Regions from separate parts of the Homo sapiens genome. Here region 1 is linked to region 2. Evidence: promoter capture Hi-C in human tissues and cell types (Jung and others, 2019). All regions are on one chromosome and are shown on one strand. The core of a region is centred on a gene start or on the middle of the fragment in contact, and the rest is flanking DNA. Distances in the headings are between cores, read along the strand shown. Region 1 has its middle 32 kb from the start of TNRC6B. Region 2 holds the start of SYNGR1 (synaptogyrin 1).

Region 1 (3,885 bases), core at 1,358-3,857, 800 kb before region 2:
CTTCCAGCAGCGTATGAGAGTTCTATTTGTCCCATGTCTCATCAATAGCAGTACTTTGTGTGGACTTTTTAATTTTAGCCAATTCTAATCATGGTTTTAACTGCACTCATGTTGAACATCTTTCTATGAGCTCCTTTGCTATCTGTTCTCTGGTAGTGTCTTCAAGTCTTTTGGCCATTTAAAAAATCGTTTTATTGAGATATAACCTATATGCCATAAAGTTCACCTGTTTAAAGTACACAATTCAGTGGCTTTTATTGTATTTACAGAATTGTGCAACCACTACCACAATCCAATCTTAGAACTTTTTCATCATTCCAAAAGAAACTACTTACGTAACAGCAGTCACTCTCCATTTTGCCTCCCTTTCATCCTCCTTCTGAGGCCCAGACAACCACGAATCTACCTTCTATCTCTACAGATTTGCCTCTTTTGACTTCTCATATATAATTGGAGTGACATAATATGTGGTGTTTTGTGTCTGTCTTTGCTATGGTCTGAATGTGTCCCCCAAAATTTGTGTTGAAAACCTAATCCCCAGTGCAATAGTGTTGGGAGGTGGGGCCTTCTGGAAGGTGTTTAGGTCATAAGAGTTCTGCCTGCATAAATTCACGCTGTTATAAAAGGGCTTGTCAGGGACGCACTGTCGCTTTTTGCCCTTCCACCTTTTGCCACGTGGGGACGCAGTATTCCTCCCTCTTAGAAGCAGGGATTGGGGCCTCCCCTGACAACAGATCTACTGGTGCCTTGATCTTGTTATTCGCGGCCTCTAGAACTATCAGAAAATAAATTTCTGTTCTTTATAAAGTACCTAGTCTGTGGTATTTTGTTATAGCAGCATAAACAAACTGAGATACTGTGGAACCATCAACCATCCATCTCCACAATTCTTCCATCTTTTCCATCTGAAACTCTGTACCCCTTAAACAGTAACTCCCCAGTCCCTGCTCCCCCCAGTCCCTAACAAGCACCATTCCACTTTCTGTCTCTATGACTCTGACTCCTCCAGTTACCTTATATAAGTAGAATCATACGGTATTTGTCTTTTTGTCACTAGTTTGTTTCACTTAGCATATGTCTTCAATATTCATCTATGTTGTAGCATGTGTCAGAGTTTCCTTCCCTTTGTAAGGCTAAATAATATTCCATTGTATGTATATACCACATTTTGTTTATCCATTCACCCTTCCATGGACACTTGGATCACTTCCACCTTTTCGCTATTGTGAATACCTCTAAGTAATATTTAATACAGTAGCCATGTCCACCCTTTTGAAAATCTCTGCCTTGTACTGGACCATCTTCCGTCATTTCTTTTCCTCTCTCTCACCCAATCTTAGAGGCTTTGGATTTATTCCTTTGACTTAGAAAACGTTTCTTGTTCGGGCACGGTGGCTTATGCCTGTAATCCCAGCCCTTTGGGAGGCCAAGGCAGGTGGATTATGTGAGGTCAGGAGTTCAAGGCCAGCCTAGCCAACATGGCGAAACCCTGTCTCTACTACAAACACACACAAAAAATTAGCCAGGCATGGCGGCGGGCGCCTGTAATCCCAGTTATTCAGGAGGCTGAGGTAGGAGAACTGCTAGGGGGAGGAGGTTGCAGTAAGCTGAGATTGCGCCACTGCACTCCAGCCTGGGCGACAGAGCGAGACTCCATCTCAAAAAAAAAAAAAAAAAAAAAAATTAGCCGGGCGTGGTGGCACATGCCTGTAATCCCAGCTACTTGGGAGGCTGATGTAGGACAATGCTTGAATTCAGGAGGCAGAGGTTGCAGTGAGCCAAAATCATGCCATTGGTCTCCAGCCTGGGCAACAAGAGAGAAACTCCGTCTCAAAAAAAAAGACAGCATTTCTCACATATTATTACATGAAAGCTTCCTTCACATCATTCAGTCATCAGCTCTAGGGCCATCTCTTTGATCCAGGGTGATCTTCCCCTACCAGCCCAGCTGAAATACTTCCAGTCACTCCCCAGCATCACACATATCACTACCTGAAAGGCTTATTTGTTCATGTGTCTTATTGTCTGTCTCCCCAACCACGAATGCAAACTTCTTGAGGCAGAGACTTTGAATGTCTTATTCACCAGAAGCCTGGCACAACAAAGTTGTTTGACCAGGATGTGCCGACTTTCCCTTTCTCCTACTACTCCCTAAGCATTTATTTCCCTAGGTTCTGCCCTTGGACCTCTTTCTTCTCATTCTGCCACAGCCATTTCATCTAATCTCACAGTTTCCACTATTAAATTTGAGTGATCCCAATTCTGTTTCCATCCTAACCTATCACGTTTCCAGCCCCACAGTTTCATCAGGCTGACGTTGCCATGCAGATTATATGCCAGCATTTCAAACTCTGTGCTCCATACAGACTGCATCCTATTCACTCCCAAACCTGCTTTTTTTTTTGAGACAAAGTCTCGCTCTGTCACCAGGCTGGAGCATAGTGATGTGATCTTGGCTCACTGCAACCTCTGCCTCCTGGGTTCAAGCAATTCTCCTGCCTCAGCCTCCCAAGTAGCTGGGACTACAGGAGGGCGCCACCACACCCAGCTAATTTTTGTATTTTTAGTAGAGACGGGGTTTCACCGTGTTGGCCAGGATGGTCTCAATCTCTTGACCTTGTGATCCGCCTGCCTTAGCCTCCCAAAGTGCTGGGATTACAGGCGTGAACCACCATGCCCAGCCGATTTATCGTTTTCTCTTTCCTCAACATCGAATAAATTGCTAAATCCTACCCATTTTATAAATATCTCCAACCACACCCTCTACTGCAGGTACTGCAGTTAAAAAGAAAATGTATATATTTTTTGAAAGCTGAGAAGTCAGCTGATATAGTGGATAAAAGAATCAATATTTAACATGGTCTCAACAGACTAAGGAGATGGGTGGAAGCTCCTCAATTTTTTTTTTAAATTGAAGTATAATTCACAAGCAGAAAAATACACACACTTTAAGTGTAGGCTCAATGAATTTTATTTTTATCTCATTTCTCTCTACTTTTGAGACAGGGTCTCACTCTGTCACCCAGGCTGCAGTGCAACGGCACAATTATGACTCACTGAAGCCTTGACATCCCGAATTCAAGTGATTCTCCCACCTTAGCCTCCCGAATAGCTGGGACCACAGGCCTGTGCCAGCACACCCAGCTAATTAAAAAAATTTTTTTTTTTTTTTTTTTTGTGGAGCTAGATAGGGTCTCTCTGCCCAGGCTGGTCTGAAATTCCTGGGCTGAAGTGATCCTCCAGTCTTGGCCTCCCAAAGTGCTGGGATTACAGGCATGAGCTACTGAGCCTAGCCTTAATGATTAATTTTAGATATGGTTGTACCTTCAAGCAACATATAGATTGAGACAGAAAATTTCCATCTCCCCAGAAAACTTCTACATGCCCCTTCCCTTGAAGATCGCCCTATTAACTATAAATGGGATTGACATGTTCGAAAGCTTAATATCACTGGGATCTGACAGTATGTACCACTTTTATATCTACATTTTTTCACTCGGTATAATGTTTCTGAGATTTATCCATGTTGTTACACTGATCAAGAGTTCATTTTTTTTTTTTTTTTTTTCCGAGACGGAGTCTTGCTCTGTCGCCCAGGCTGGAGTACAGTGGCACAATCTCGGCTCACTGCAAGTTCTGCCTCCTCGGTTCACGCCATTCTCCTGCCTCAGCCTACCAAGTAGCTGGGACTACAGGTGCCCGCCACCACGCCCGGCTAATTTTTGGTATTTTTAGTAGAGACAGGGTTTCACCATGTTAGCCAGGATGGTCTCGATCTCCTGACCTCGTGATCCGCCCGCCTCGGCCTCCCAAAGTGCTGGGATTACAGGCGGGAGCCACTGCGCCCAGCCAAGAGTTCAATTTTTAAACTTAGTAGTGTTCCAC
Region 2 (3,431 bases), core at 29-2,528:
ACCCTGAGGTCACAGCTGGCCTTGGGGTAGCCCCTGGGGTCCCTGACAGTCTAGCCCATTCCTAGTCTAAGCCCACAAGGAACGGGCCCCAGGCCTGCAGAGGCCAGAACCTCGAGTGGGAGTTTCTGGGATACAGCCAGCCAAACCCAGGGAGCCCCAGAAACCCCCTCTCCAGACCCCAGCAGGGCTTCTTTCCATGAGGTGCCACTCAAGGCACCTGAACCCCTCCCTCTGTGCTCACTGTCTCTGACCCATCCTCTCCCTGACCACCCGTCTGAACAAGAGCCCACTCAGCCCTCTGCACTGAGGACCCTGCCCCCCAGCTAGGCTGGAGGCCACCCTGGCCTCTTCACTGTGGGAGCAGACCTTTCTCCCAGACACCCGCCTTGGGCATCCAGGTGCATGCTGAGTGGGAGGGGTGTTACCGGTTCATGAAATGTCAGAGCCCAAGGGGGCCTCAAGAAGGCTCCGCCCACCTTGTCTATAAATTGGGAAACTGAGGCATGAGAGAGGAGATGACACTCCCCACCTCGGAATTGAAGTCCTCATTTCTCGAGAACATTTCCTGGGTGGCTCCCAGCCCAAGGTCACGCAGAGAAGGAGAGGCAGTTCCCGGGTGGAAGAGAGGTACTCAGTTCCCGACTCATCGCTCCACACGGGCCGGGCTAGGCAATACGAACCCGGTTCCCGGCCCTCTCCTCCTCCAACGTCCATCGCAGGCGCGGCATGCACCCCACCGAGATGGTCCACGCCCTGATCCACCCCCCAAAAAAGGCCACCTTAAACCCTGGCTCCGTCCCCACGGTCCCCAGTCCGCCCTGGCGGCCGCGCACAATCCGAGCCTTTCGCGGCATAGCCGCGGCCTGGAGGTCACAGCAATCGGGGCGGGAAGGGGGGCGCACGAACCGGGGGCCCCAGGAAACCAGGGCTCCGGGAGCCGGAGCGGCGTCTCCCGCGAGCACCAGGGATCCCGCCCGCCCCGGGCCCGGGAAGGAGGAGCGGCGGCAGCGGGCCCCGCAGGCAGGACAGCTCCTCGCCCGCCGCCGCGCCGCCGCCGGGGGCCCGTTGGGGTCGGGGTCGGGGTCGGTCCGGGCGCGCCGCCTTTGCTCACACCCCCACCACCCCGGCCTGGCAGAGCCGTCGGCCAGTCCGTCCTTACCCAAGACACGACGCGCAGGATGGTGTGCGGCTGCCGGACCAGGGTGTAGGGGTCGAAGGCGCCCCCGGCTTTGCCCGCTCCGTACGCACCCCCTTCCATCGTGGCTGCACCCGCGCGGTGCCCCCCGCTCGGCGCGCGCCGCCGGCCCGTGCGCGTGCGCGGCGCCCCCGCCCCCTCCCCTGCGCGCGCGGCCGGCGGCCCAGGGCTCCCGCGAGGGGGCGTCGTGCGCGGCGGGCGCAGCTCGCGGGGCGCGGGCGGGGGGCTGGGCAGCGCGCGACCTCGGGCGCGGGGGCGCGCGTGCTGCGGCCCGGGGCTCAGGGCGCGCTCGCAGCCAGTGCGGTGACCTCTTTGCAAAGTGTTTGGGGGAGGGCGGTGCGTGCACAGCAAGTGTGGGCCGTGTCCCTGCCCCGCATCCCCGGTCCCCTGCCCCGGTCGCAGCCCCTCTGAGCCGTCGGCTCTGCTGAAACCATCTTCACGCTTGATTTGTTTGGCTGTTTCCTGCCACTTTGTCGGCCCCAAATATAATGAGAGGGCAGGAGCTGTGTTCGTCCTTCTTAGAGGGTGCTTGGTACGCAGTAGGCGCCGCATGAATATTTCTCGAATGAATGAACCACGAGTGAATGACCCTCTCTTACAGCCCTCCAGAGCAGCCCCCACCTCCCAGGACCACCCTTCCCCTGCCTCTTACGATGACGTCATGTGTGTCCCTGTGCCCGCGCACCCTCCCACCCCCAGCCTGGAGGGGCCTGGCACAGAGGCGGCGGCTGAGACTTCCTCTTCCCCATCCCCTCCTACCCCAGAACGTTGCCCCTTTCCTGAATCTAGCAATTAATTACGCAATCATTTGTTCATGGCCTCTTCTGCTGCTAGTCTGTGAGCTCCCGAGGCCCAGGTGTTGTCTAACTTATTCAATGCCTTACCCAAGGGCCTAGCATACAGTAGGTGCTCAGTAAACAGAGCCTAGTCCCCATCACCCCATCACAGCTTGGGCTAGACCTCCAGGTTTCATGGAAACGGAGGCTAGATGGAGGAGTGCTCCCTGCAGGGGAAGGGCCACCTTCCAGGGCTGGCTCTCCTGCTGCCCTGTAGCTCTATGGCCTCTCTATGTCTGCAGTCACCTTCACTGGTTCCAGGAGCAGGTTGGATGAGGATATGGGTGGAGGCTTTTGCTTCTCTGGTATCCTGCCATTCTGTGATGACAGGACACAACATCTGTGTGGAGGAAATGTGTGCTGGGCCTGAGGGTGCTCCTTATAAAAATTACATAGTCAATGTCCATCTTAGGCTCAGCTGATTGTTTAGTCTCTACCAGGCCTTGTGCTAAGGGCTTTACATACATTTTCACATTTAATCCAGCACACTTATAAGGTGTCTACTATGACTATATAAAACTTTTAGAAGAAAGCACAAGAGAAGGCCGGGCGCAGTGGTTCACGCCTGTAATCCCAGCACCTTGGGAGGCCAAGGTGGATGGATCACAAGGTCAAGTGATTGAGACCATCCTGGCCAACATGGTGAACCCGGTCTCTACTAAAAATACAAAAATTAGCCGGGCGTGGTGGCGAGCTCCTGTAGTCCCAGCTACTTGGGAGGCTGAGGCAGGAGAATCACTTGAACCCAGGAGGTGGAGGTTGCAGTGAGCCGAGATCGCGCCACAGCACTCCAGCCTGGCAACAGAGCGAGACTCCGTCTCAAAAAAAAAAAAAAAAAAAAAAAATCATGAAGAACATGATTCATAAAAGAAACAATTGATAAACTGGACTTTATCAAAATTAAGAACTTCTGTTCTTTAAAAGACATTGTTAAAAGAATGTATGAAAAGACAAACGATAGTCTGGGAGAAAATATTTGCAAAGCATAGATCTAAAGAACTTGCATCCCAAATAAAGAACGTTCGAACTCAATAATAATAAGAGGACCCACTTTTTAAAAAATGGGCAAAAGATTTGAATAGTTATACACCTCACCAAAGAAGATATACACACGGCAACTCAGCACATAAAAAGATGCCCAGCATCCGCGGTGGCTCACGCCTATAATCCCAGCACTTTGGGAGGCCGAGACGGGCAGATCATGAGGTCAGGAGATTGAGACCATCCTGGCTAACACGGTGAAACCTCATCTCTAGTAAAAATACAAAAAAAAAAAAAAAAAAATTAGCCGGGTGTAGTGGCTGTAGTCCCAGCTACTCGGGAGGCTGAAGCAGGAGAATGGCGTGAACCCGGGAGGCGGAGCTTGCAGTGAGCCGAGATCGCGCCACTGCACTCCAGCC

Evidence for each region. The method cuts DNA at HindIII sites, captures the fragments that hold promoters and counts their contacts. A contact is called where the count stands out against the background at its distance.
Region 1: a contact is called between a fragment that was not itself captured here and the fragment with the promoter of SYNGR1 in region 2, in 1 of the 25 tissues and cell types used here (dorsolateral prefrontal cortex).

The regions. Positions count from the first base shown.
Region 1 is chr22:40,144,360-40,148,244 of GRCh38, reverse strand. It overlaps a transcript of TNRC6B not described here. Among named protein-coding and RNA genes, the nearest start is that of TNRC6B, 32 kb to the left of the region's middle. The HindIII fragment of the contact is 4,470 bases long and covers 373-3,885 here.
Region 2 is chr22:39,347,838-39,351,268 of GRCh38, reverse strand. It overlaps SYNGR1 (synaptogyrin 1), which reads right to left and starts at 1,278. Exons shown (of 4, transcript NM_004711.5): 1 at 1,160-1,278. The coding sequence starts at 1,258. RefSeq lists a silencer at 1,072-1,231. The HindIII fragment of the contact is 13,153 bases long and covers 1-3,431 here.